Linked DNA regions of Homo sapiens: region 1 is linked to region 2. Evidence: promoter capture Hi-C in 16 types of primary human blood cells and fetal thymus (Javierre and others, 2016). All regions are on one chromosome and are shown on one strand. Each heading gives the region's core, a stretch centred on a gene start or on the middle of the fragment in contact. The rest is flanking DNA. Distances are from core to core; before and after follow the strand shown. Region 1 overlaps LOC105378198 (a long non-coding RNA gene). Region 2 holds the start of SLC4A9 (solute carrier family 4 member 9).

Region 1 (5,789 bases), core at 248-2,747, 370 kb before region 2:
GACAAGCCTGGCCAAAATATTGAAACGCTGTCTCTACTAAAAACACAAAAATTAGCTGGGCATGGTGGCACATGCCTGTAATCCTAGCTACTCAGGAGGCTGAGAGAGGAGAATCACTTGAGCCCAGGAGGCAGAGCTTGCAGTGAGCTGAGATACCCCCACTGCACTCTTGCCTGGGTGAAAGAGCAAGACTCTGTCTCAAAAATAATAATAATAGTAATAGAAATATTAATAAATAAATAAAAATCAGGTAAACAGGGCTGGGCACAATGGTGCATGCCTACAGTCTCAGCACTGGAGAGGTTGAAGCAAAAGGATCACTTGAGCCCAGGAATTCAAGGCTGTTGCCACTATGATTATACCTGTGAATGGCTACTATACTGCAGCCTGGGCAACATAGCAAGACCATCTTCTCTAAATACAATAAAAATAAATAAGATAAACAATCAGGTGAATGGTTAATTCCAAAAGAAAGTGAAGGGATTGTAAAAATCAAAAGAGAGAGAGGGTTTCTGGGATGTTGGCAATGTTTTCTTACCTTAGTAGTGATTATATGGATTCATTTTATAAGCATTTATTTAAATCTATGTATTTACCTCATGAATTTTCTGCATGTATGTTATATCTCACAGTTTAAAAATGTTTAATTAGTGAACAGTAGAAAATTGATACAGTCATCATAAGCATACATGCATCTACAATACAGTCTTGAACTACATCAAATAGGAAAAAATACATAAATCACCAATTGTAGTTGGAAATGTTTTAATATGCATCTCTAAGGACTGTAGATCACATAGACCTGAAAATAGTATGGATATGAATGAGCTGAAAAGAAAAACAATTTTAAAAATATGTAGACCCAAAATAAACAGGCATTATTTTTGAATATATATATAACACTTACAACAATAGACCATGTGTTAGGCTATAAATTCCACAGATCTGATCCCATTCAGACAATGTTCTCCTATTACAATGCATCCTGGAATTAACATTTGTAAAAACAATAGCTAAAATAAAATCCCATGTGTTTGGAAACTAAATAACATATTACTAAATAAGATTCTGCTTAAAAAATACTTAGAAGTGAATGAAACACTACATGAAGAATTTGTGTACTACAACTAAAGCAGTACTTAAAGGTAAACTTGCAGTTTTAAATACACTAATGATTAAGAAAGATTAAAATCAAATGAGCTGCCACAGGAGATACAACCTCACACCCTTCAGGATAGCTGCTATCAATCACACACACACACACACACACACACACAGAGAGAGAGAGAATAAGTGTTAGTGAAGACATGGAGAAATTGAAGCATTTCTGCACTATTGGTGGGAATGTAAAGTGATACAGCTGCTATGGAAAACAGTACAGCAGTCACTTAAATAATTAAAAGTACAATTACCATATAACCCAGCAATTCCACTTCTGGGTATATACCCAAAGGAATTGAAAGCAGAAACACAAACAGATATTTGTACACTCATGTTCATAGCAGCATTGTTCATAATAGGCAAGAGGTCAAAACAACCCAAATGTCCATTGATGGACAATGACTAAACAAAACATTCCATTTTAATAGTATTCCATTGTAGTATTCACATACAATAAAATATTATTTATCCTTTTTCAAAAGGAATGAAATTGTAGTACATGATACAACGTGGATGAACCTTAAGAACATTGTGCTGGCTGGGTGCGGTGGCTCATGCCTGTAATCCCAGGAGAATCATGGGGTCAGGAGATCGACACCATCCTGGCTAACAGAGTGAAACCCAGTCTCTAGTAAAGTTACAAAAAATTAGCAGGACATGGTGGCAGGAGGCTGAAGTCCCAGCTACTTGGGAGGCTCAGGCAGGAGAATCGCTTGAACCCAGGAGGTGGAGGTTGCAGTAAGCCGAGATTGTGCCACTGCACTCCAGCCTGGGTGACTGAGCCAGACTCCATCTCAAAACAAAACAAAACAAAACAAAATAAAACATAGTGCTAAGTGAAATAAACGAGTCACAAAAAGACAACTACTGTATGATTCCACTTCTATGAGATACCTAGAGTAGTCAAATTTATAGAGACGGAAAGCAGAATGGCAGTTGCCAGGGATTAGGGATAGAGGGAGGTGGAGAGTTATTAGTTAATGGGTATAGAGTTTCAGTTTTGAAAGATGAAGAGTTCTGGAGATGGATAGTGGTGATGGTTGCAAAACGGTGTGAATGTACCTACCACCACTGAGCTGAACATTTTAAAATGGTTCATATGCCAAATTTTATATTCTGTGTAGTTTACCACAATTAAAATTTTTTATGGAAAACAAAAACAAATGTTCTGGCTTCCAGATTCCTATAGAACAACACCAGTTACCTAAATTTGAATCTCTCCACACATCCTATAAACAAACAAAACTAAGGAGAACGAATAAAACCATCCATGGCTACAATATAATTTACAGACAGAGAAAATTATAAACCCCATTTTATATAAAAGCAGGTATATACATCCAAAACCAGCAGATCCAGTTACAGAGCCATGCTCTAGAAGAGAAGCCAAGATGGCACAGAAAGGCTAAACCACCACCAGAAAAAGAGAGTCCCATCTTGAGTGGAGAAATACTGACAATACGTCCGAGATCTGGTAGATGAAAGAACTGAGACAGATTTTAAAAGGGGGTGAAATTGTTTGAGACTGGCAATGGCAATGTTGCAAAGGCAAGAGGAAAGGCAGGAAGAAAGAGGCGACTTGAAGGGGAGGTACCCCTTCAGGGCTTGATGGTGAAGAAAAACGAAGCAAGCAATGAGTAAGAGTCCCAGGCTGGGCGCAGTCGCTGACTCCTATAAACCCAACACTATGGGAGGCCGAGGTGGGCAGATCTCTTGAGCTCAGGAACTCGAGACCAGCCTGGGCAACATGGTGAGACCCCCATCTCTACAAAAATAAAATAAAATAAAATACTAAATTTAGCCAGGCGAGGTAGTGCGCACCTGTGGTCCCAGCTACTCGGGAGGAGGCTGAGGCAGGAGGATCGCTTGAGCCCAGGAGGCAGAGGTTGCTGTGAGCAGAGATGGAGCCGCTGCACTCCAGCCTGGGAGACAGAGACAGGCTGTGTCTCGAAAAGAAAAAGAAAAAGAAAGTTAAGAGTCCCACAGAAATGAAACAGAATCACAAAATCAGAAGACATCAGCCAGTGCGCCACTCTAAAAAAAGAGGGCACTCTTGAACTAAGAAAGCTGGTAAGGCACCCAACCTCCTGCCTCATTTGCAGTTGCTGAAACTGGAAAATAAAATATTACAAAATGCACAGAAAATTGCAGACATATTATATAGAAAAAATTTAAGTGAAAATCTATATTTTCTAAAAAAAAAAAACTCAACATGATACCAGAAACCTGAAACATAATATTCCAGCCAAAATTAAATAACCTTAAACAATAATTTGGTAACATGAAAAAAAATGCCATGAATCAGAAAAATAACTCAGAACAGAAATGGACAAAGAACGAAATAACTAAGAAAACAGTTTGTTAAAAAAAAAAAAGCAGGAGAAATAGAAGAATAAAAAAATCAGAAAAAAAAACTAAATTATAAGATGTTCGAAGAGGAAGAGCTTTTACTTAAAATATAATAACTGGTATTGAGGAAAGGTATTAACACAGCCAATAAAATAAAAATAAAATCAAAAGAAAGCAATTCAGCCGGGTGCAGTGGCTCACGCCTGTAATCCCAGCACTTCGGGAGGCCGAGGCGGGTGGATCACAAGGTCAGGAGTTCGAGACCAGCTTGGCCATTATGGTGAAACCCTGTCTTTACTAAAAATACAAAAATTAGCCAGGTATGGTGGCATGTGCCTGTAGTCCCAGCTACTCAGGAGGCTGAGGCAGGAGAATCGCTTGAAAAAAGGAGATGGAAGTTGCAGTGAGCGGAGATCGCACCATTGCACTCCATCCTGGGCAACAGAGTGAGATTCCATCTGAAAAAAAAAAAAGCCATTCAAAGGATCAGACAGAAAGTGGCGTTGGTGTAGAGGCAAAGATCCAACATACATTGCAGTCCCTGAAGAAGAATAAAACAATGGAACCGATGTAATCTTCAAAACTATAATAAAAGAAACTTGGGTCTACATATCGAAAGGAAACCTAGGAAAAATTATATGGAATGATCAAGTCTGAGGTATATCTTAGAGCATCCATTAGATTTGAAAGAAAAACTCCTGTGGGCCTCAGGCAAAAAGGACAAGAAGATACAAATATACAGGTAACTGTTAGAACAAACACGTGAACATTACTGAACACTGAAAAAACTTTAAAAGTTAAGAGTTTGGTTGTGTTTGGATTTTAAGCACTTCCTTGCTTTCTAGCACTACGAGGTGCTCCGTGTCCATTTCTATATTTCCTGCCCACTACTAAAATCAGCCATTTCTCCAAGAAACCCTGGATCCTTTTATTATGGAAAGTGAGCTGAACTTCAGCAGTAAGAGGGCTGGAGAGCGCCCGCGGGTCTCGAACAACCCAGAGAGGTGGTTTGATGACACGCGAAGTAACCGCTGAGCTAAAGCCAGCCCAGAGGTTGCTTTCGGATTGTATTTTCTTGACTGGTGAGAAAGACCTACGTCACAAAGAGTGAGTCAAAACAACGGTGCTTTAGCTTGACTCAGCGACCTGGACTGTCCAATCCGCCGCTATCTCCAGGCAATTGCAGAGTGTCCATCTGGGGACATACAGCAGTGACAAGTACTCAGCCTTCCTCTAACCCCTGGAGAGCTCTTCCGCGGTTGTGCCCCCGGTTTATTCTCTCCTCAGCAGTCACCTGGTCCACAACTCTCCACACGCCCCCACCTCCTTTGCCTCCAGCTTTTGCGCTCCCAAAACAACCACGCAGGGTCACTTTGTGATCAAATCGACTTTTACAAGTAGAGCTTGGGTCATAAGAGTGGAGTCTTTACAAGGTGTAAATTGTATTTCAGACCTTATCTTAGAACTTCGCTGCTAAACTAGATAAACCTTACATCCTCTCCCCAGGGGAAACTTCCTGCGGCGCTTTTTTTTTTTTTTTTTTTTGACAGAATACCCCTCTGTCACCCTGTCACCCAGGCTGCAGTGCAATGGCCCCATCTAGGCTCAACCCATACGCCCCTCTTAGCCTTCCCAGTAGCTAGGACTACAGGCAGTCCACCATGCCCAACTAATTTTTTTTTTCCTGAGACGGATTCTCCACGCCGTTGCCCAAGCTGGATTGCAGTGGCAACAACTCGGCTCACTGCAGCCTCCGCCTCCCAGGTTCAAGCGATTCTCATGCCTCATCCTCCCAAGTAGTTGGGACTACAGGCATGCGCCACCACACCCAGCTAATTTTTATATTTTTTAGTAGAGAGGAAGTTTCACCATGTTGGCCAGGCTGGTCTCGAACTCCTGACCTCAGGTGATCCGCTTGCCTCGGCCTCCCAAAGGGCTGAGATTACAGGCTTCAGCCACCATGCCCAGCCTTTCTTGTTTTGTTTTGTTTTGTCTTTTTGTAGAGACAGGCTCTTGCTATGTTGCCAAGGTTGACCTGGAACTGGCCTCAACAGATCCTTCCACCTTGGCCACCCAAAGCGCTAGGATTACCCGTGTGAGCCTCCATGCCTGGCCTAAAAATTATTTCCATTTTTAATACTACAGTAACATCTATTATTTTTATGTGCACTGTAAACAGCTAATCTTTCTTCCCCAAATTCCTACTTTTCTCCAATTAACCACTGTTTATATTTCAATGTGTATCCTTCCAGTCCTTTCCCTCAATCTGTATATTTAAC
Region 2 (6,275 bases), core at 2,425-4,924:
CAAAAGTGATGGCATTAGTGACAGTGGCCAGGTAAATGTAGAGTACGGCCGAGAAGCACTGGAGATGCAGGGCGTCCAAGAAATCGCTGGGGTACCACGGGACCTTCCTGCGCACGTCCTGGATAAGGCCCCCAAACAGCCTCCCGCCCGAGGGTCGTCAGTGATCCAGGTTTTCACACTCCACACCCGCATCCCCGCTACTTTCCCTGTGACCGGGTGAGCCCCTCCCACAGTGAGCACACACCTCAGTTTCCCTGTGACTCCTCCCCTCCCCCAGGTCACCTACCCTTGTTTCCTCCCAGCTCGCCTCACCTGCCGGTCCGCTGCAACTCCGGGCTGTGTGCGTGTGGCCCATGGCGGTGCCTGTCCTCAGCCGAGGTCAGGCGCGGGACGGCGGGACCTCTGATCTCCCGCTGTTGCGAGGGAAGCCTGAGGAGGAGGGGAACCCCAGGTTGGCTGAGGATCTCCAACCAGTCTGCGACTCGGTCCAGAGCTCGTGGCGCCCTGCCCCCTAGCGGCTGCTCTTGTCTCTGCCGGCGAGGGAACCATGGCGACACCTGGGCCTCTAGAAGGTCCAGGTCATATTGCGACCTGTGAAAGCCAGGCTCGGGCAGGGAAGGTCTTTGTTCAGGTCTCTTAGCGAGAGAGTAGTCCAGCAGAACTCAGAGTTAGGTCTGCCTGACTCCAAATCCAAAGATAGGTCCCTATCTCTTTCCTGGGACACCACCCCTCCTCAACAATGGAATTAGACCCAGGGCCTATATGGGCAGGAATCTGTATGGGATGATGGCTCCCAGGTACCTTTTGTGCTGAGATGGCAGACATTTGGGCGGGGGAATCCGGGCTGTTGGGTCCCACCGACCTGGGGGAAGCACTGTCACCTCCTCTAGGAATGCATCCAGGGCTGCCAGAAGGTCATGAAGGTTGCTGGCCCGACGAACTGACCACTGGAATTGCTGGGAATGGGGGCACAGAATGGGTGGTAAGTGCAAACCTGGTCTCTTACATGCATTTTCATAGTCTCAAAACTAGACAGACACAAGTCACAGAGGCAGACAAGTCATTCACACATTCCTTTATGCATGCATTAATTCATTCATTCAGTGGGTATCTATTGAGTGCCTACAGTGTGCCAGCACTCATCCAGTAATGGGGCTGCACTAGGAGACGAGGAAACTTCAGTCTCAGTGCTCACTGTGCCTCATTGCTGTATTTAGGGACACATACAGAGTCCACACACACACACTCACATGAGCCCATGCATGTATGCATGTGTGCACACACACACAGGCATGCACGCGTGCGCGCGCACACACACACACCTGCTCAGCTCACCGGGTCACTGAGGAGGACAGCTGCTGCCCGTCCCATCTCATGGTAGCCCTTTCCCAGCATACAGGGGCCCAGGAGAAGGCAGAAAAACCTGAGGAAGGAACCAGGCCCCAGAGATTCACAGGCTGCTTTCCCACAGGGCAGCCCTGGCCTCTGATGCTCAGCTCTGACCTATCAGCTCCCATAAACACACTCATTTGCACACCTACCATGCAGCCCTGACCACTACTCTCTCCCCAGACCCCTGAGCACCATCCTCCCCACAGCCTCAGAGAATCAGACTGAGACCCTCCTTCCCCTCCTCAGTAAAGACCCTTCTAGGTTCTGGGATCCCTGACTCCCACTCACTCAGTAGCCTCACCTGCTTGGGAGGGACACCTCAGTAAGGGACCCCAGTACCACAGGGTTCCGCAGTCGAACAAAGGCTCCCAGTGGCTGTGCCAGGAAGCCCAGCTCCCCTGCCAGCACAGTCCCTGCCTCAGCTCCTGGAGGTAGCTTCTGTCTCAGGGGGTTCTGACACTGGATGGGGGTTCAAGGAGACACAGAATATGAAAGGTTATTTGGGGAGGATAAGATCTCAAATGATGAGAAATCCAGTGGAGAGTAGACTTTTGTTAATTTCTAACCCCTCTCCCAGCCACTGGAAAGGGACCCCAAGGAAGGGCCACAAACCTGTTCCCTCAGGGGGGCTTCCTCATTGTCAGAAGCCTTTCTTGGATGAGTAGAGCCTACAAAACAGGATTATGCAGTGATTAAGACCACAGGCTTTGGGGGTGGATCCACCAGGATTCCCTAATCACTTTTGCCACTGACAAGCTGTAAGAATTAGAGTATACCCTTCTCCACTCTGAGCCACAGTTTTCTCACCACTAAAATGGGGATAATTGTGGTACTATTTACAGGGTGGTTGTGAAGATCAAATGAGATACTGTGAAGATCAAATGGTAGGCCTAGTGCCTACCAAGTACATGTCTTCACAGAACTCTCTTACGATTCTAGCCCCCTGAATCTTCTCCCCACAACATTACCACCAGTTTCCTCTTGCTCATGAGTCCTGGGTTGGAGCCTGAACTAAGCCTGGGCTACTTCTAGCCCTGGAAGGTGCAGGGGAGATCTGAGACCCTGCCACACCAGGGTCTTGGTCCTGGGCCCAGGGAGGGGCTCTCACCCCAGCAGGGCCTGGTGCCTGTGGTCTGGTTGTAATGCTGGGGTCTCTGCAGCAGCAAGGCCTGCAACTGCCCTCTCAGCTCTGGGCTCAGCGACTCCACCCTGGTCACCTGCTCTGGAGAATGGATTGGGGGTCATCTCCTTCCTGAGAGTTCCCTGCCGCACACTCTTCCCCTTCTCCCTCTGCCCAGACACCTTTCCCTTCTGGGAGTCTCAGAATGCCAGGGCCAATGAACTTGCTCCTCCACCCTGCTTTTCCATGTCCACCCTGTGACAAGGGTAGACAATCCTAGGAGGGGTAGGGATGGGCTCTGGAAGATTTCAAGACTTTGGAGGGGAAATCCTGGGGAAAAGGCATGGCTACCCAGGCCCTTCCTGCAAAGGATCCCAGCCTACCCACGAGCTCCAGGAGGCTCTGAGCTGGGCAGTCCAGCAGTACAAGGCCCTCGGCCAGCAGGCTGCGGAGCTTCTGGAGGCTGGGCAGTGCCAGGGTGGGCACGTGGGGGGCACTCCACCGGCCTGCAGCCACCTCCAACTTCTCCTCAAACAGTACCCACCTGTGATGAAGGTGGGTAGACAGTGTTATTGAGGGCATTTCTCCCATGTCCAGGAGCAGAGATGCAGAGGAGCTAGGGAAGGCAAGGCAATGAGGGCATCCTGGGCCCAGTGGTGTGAAGTCTCCCCCCCACCCTGGCAGTCACCCCTCATCTAGGGTCTTGGGGATCTCAAAACTAGACTGCAGAGGAGGCTGGGCATCATGGAAGGTAAGACCCTGAAATAAGGGAACACAGCTGGGAAAATCCTAATTTTGGGCAGCCCCATAAGAAGCGCTGGGGGACATATAGGAGGCTCCAGCTGGGGAAGGGGAAGGATCCCACAGAACTGGCCTGCATCCAACTTACCTGCCTGTCTCTCTCCACTCCAGCGCCTGGGGCCAGCCCAGCAGCTCATTCAGCTGAATGAAGAGCAGAGGGTCTTTGGGTACTCCCAGTTCCTTGCTCTCTGTGTCTGAGGGGCCATCAGGGCTGGGGCCGGTGCCAGGGTCAGGGTTGCTGTCCAGCTCCCCTGAAGGAATATTTCTAGGAGCACTGGAGGCTTCAAACCCTTCCTGGCCTGGCAGCTTCATTTCCATGAGGCTTGCACAGAATCTCAGAACCAGTACAGTCCTAGGTTCTGAAGCCAGGGGCCCTCTGGCTGGTTGCATTTATAATGCATCCCCCACTGCAGCACAACACAAACAGAACAAGGCCTGCTGACTCCAGACTCTACCGGTCACCTACTCCCCTACTTGCTTACCCCACCCCCTGCTGGCATAAGAGTATTTGTAAGACTAGTCTGGCCTTTCCCAGGCTCTCCAGAAATGCCCAACCTGGGGCCAAAATGTGTATGTGCATTTCCTGTGGTATCAGGTCTGATCCCACTGTGTTTTGTGTAAAGAAACAGGAGTAAATGATTGGCTTGGGTCTGAGGACTTGGTACCCCCAGATTTTGCTGCCCCCCTCACTTGTATCAAATATAAATACCAAACACCCAGGACTGTTTTGGGTGTCACCAACACACCCCTGGGGCCACAGACACACCTATTTGGACAAACAGGGACCTAATAAATAATTGAGTCCATGGAAGCCAGACAGGGTAAGGGAGATAGCAGGCAGAGGACCTGCCCATTAAATGGGATAATGGTGGAAGACCTAGTGTCTGAGTCTTAAATTCTTTTCTTTTCTTTTTTTTTGAGACAGGGTCTCACTCTCTCACCCAGTCTGGAGTGTAGTGGCACAGTTATAGCTCACTGCACCTTTGACCTCCTAGCTCAAGTGATCCTCCCACCTCAGCCTCCAAGGTAGTTGGGACTACAGGTGCACGCCACCATGCCCAGCTAAGTCTTTTATTTTATTTTATTTTATTTTTGAGACGGAGTCTCGCTCTGTCGCCCAGGCTGGAGTGCAGTGGTGTGATCTCAGCTCACTGCAACCTTCACCTCTTGGGTTCAAGTGATTCTCCTGCCTCAGCCTCCCAAGTAGCTGAGATTACAGACATGTGCCACCAGGCCTGGCTGATTTTTATATTTTTAGTAGAGACAGGGTTTCACCATGTTGGCCAGGCTGGTCTCAAAAACTCCTGACCTCAGGTGATCCATCCGCCTCAGCCTCCCAAAGTGCTAGGATTACAAGCGTAAGCCACTGTGCCTGGCTGCCCAGCTAACGAGTCTTAAATTCTTTTGTCCAACAACACTTAGGAATTCCCTAATTTAGCTGTGTCCCTGGGATCTGCCCTGTGAGGATGGAGGAGCCCACTAGGGGGTGTAAGTGAAGGAGTTCCTGGAGCTAAATGAGCAAAGGAAAATGTGGTCCATTATTTGCAAATCCTGTTGACTCTATCTTCAAAATATACCCATAATCCAACCACATCTCCCCACCTCCAGCACTGCTACCCTGATTCAAACAACCATCATTTCTCACCTGAATTATTTCAGTAGCTTCCTGGTCTCTTGTAATAACCCCCCTGCTTCCACTCTTCCTCCCTTGCCCAAAGTCCATCCTCCACACCATACATGTCCTTTCAAAAGGCAGTTGAGCCACATTACTCTTCGGTTCAATACTCACCCAACACACTCCCATTACTCCTAGAAGAAGAAGAAAAAAAAATCAAGCTCCTTGTCGTGGCCTGCAAGATTCACACCCTGGCCCCAACCCACCTCTCTGACGGCATCTCACACCAGCCTCCCCTCGCTCACTCCTTTCTAACCACACTGGCCTTCACCTGTTCTGCAAAACCTGTTCCTGCCTGAGGATCTTTGCAGGATCTATTTTCTCTGTAAGGAAAGCCTTTCCCCCATATCCTTACATGACAATCTGTGACCTAGGTCTCATCTCAGACGTTAGCTACTCACGGAAATCTTCCTTTTCCATCCTATCCTAAGTTTCTTTCTTTTTTTTTTTTTTTTTTTTTTTTGAGACGGAGTCTCGCTCTGTTGCCCAGGCTGGAGTGCAGTGGCATGATCTCGGCTTACTGCAAGCTCCGCCTCCCGTGTTCACGCCATTCTCCTGCCTCAGCCTCCAGAGTAGCTGGGACTACAGGCGCCCGCCACCACGTCCGGCTAATTTCTTTCTTTTTTTTTTTTTTTTTTTTGTATTGGTAGAGACGGAGTTTCACCGTGTTAGCCAGTATGGTCTCGATCTCCTGAACTCGTGATCCACCCGCCTCGGCCTTCCAAAGTGCAGGGATTACAGGCGTGAGCACCGCGCCCGGCCCATCCTACCCTAAGTTTCTCTCTTGGGTCACTCTCCATCACATTTCTCTGTTTTATTTTCTTCCTAGCAGTTACCACTACTAGTAACTGCCTCATTTATGTATTTGTTTATCATTTATTGCCTGACTGTCCACGCACGCACACGCTGAAATGCACAGTCCGTGGAGCAGGTATCTGTCTTGGCCGCGGCGCCTAGAGCGGCGCCTGGCACGTAGTGGCTCTCAATAAATACTTGTTCAATGAGAGCATACAAAGGACCGGGCTGAGAAAAGAGCCGCGCTTCTCCTGGAGGCCACACGAGGGCACTGCTCCCCTCAGACCGGATTGCTAGGGCCGCTCCCTTAGGCCCAGTGGCTGCAGACCTGCCGGGGCGCAGAGATGGAGATGCCCAGATGGCAGGGAGAGATCCTAAACCCTCAGCCTTGCCCTGGCCCACCGCGGAATGGCCCGGAGAGATGGGGGGTTGGGGAAGAACAACAGGATGGGGAAGGGAGGGCCAATCAGGCTCATCTGAATGTAGGTCAGC

What was found. The method cuts DNA at HindIII sites, captures the fragments that hold promoters and counts their contacts. A CHiCAGO score of 5 or more calls a contact.
Region 1: a contact is called between a fragment that was not itself captured here and the fragment with the promoter of SLC4A9 in region 2, in 2 of 17 cell types (naive CD8 T cells and naive CD4 T cells). The highest score is 6.2, in naive CD8 T cells.

Annotation. Positions count from the first base shown.
Region 1 is chr5:140,724,928-140,730,716 of GRCh38, reverse strand. The region is part of intron 1 of LOC105378198 (a long non-coding RNA gene); the gene reads right to left. It also overlaps VTRNA1-3. Among named protein-coding and RNA genes, the nearest start is that of ZMAT2, 27 kb to the right of the region's middle. RefSeq lists an enhancer at 4,479-4,773. The HindIII fragment of the contact is 9,674 bases long and covers 1-5,789 here.
Region 2 is chr5:140,357,593-140,363,867 of GRCh38, reverse strand. It overlaps SLC4A9 (solute carrier family 4 member 9), which reads right to left and starts at 3,674. Exons shown (of 22, transcript NM_031467.3): 1 at 3,402-3,674; 2 at 2,896-3,056; 3 at 2,501-2,614; 4 at 2,005-2,060; 5 at 1,694-1,851; 6 at 1,336-1,423; 7 at 802-956; 8 at 313-429; 9 at 1-140. The coding sequence starts at 3,631. RefSeq lists enhancers at 248-793, 664-813. The HindIII fragment of the contact is 10,887 bases long and covers 1-6,275 here.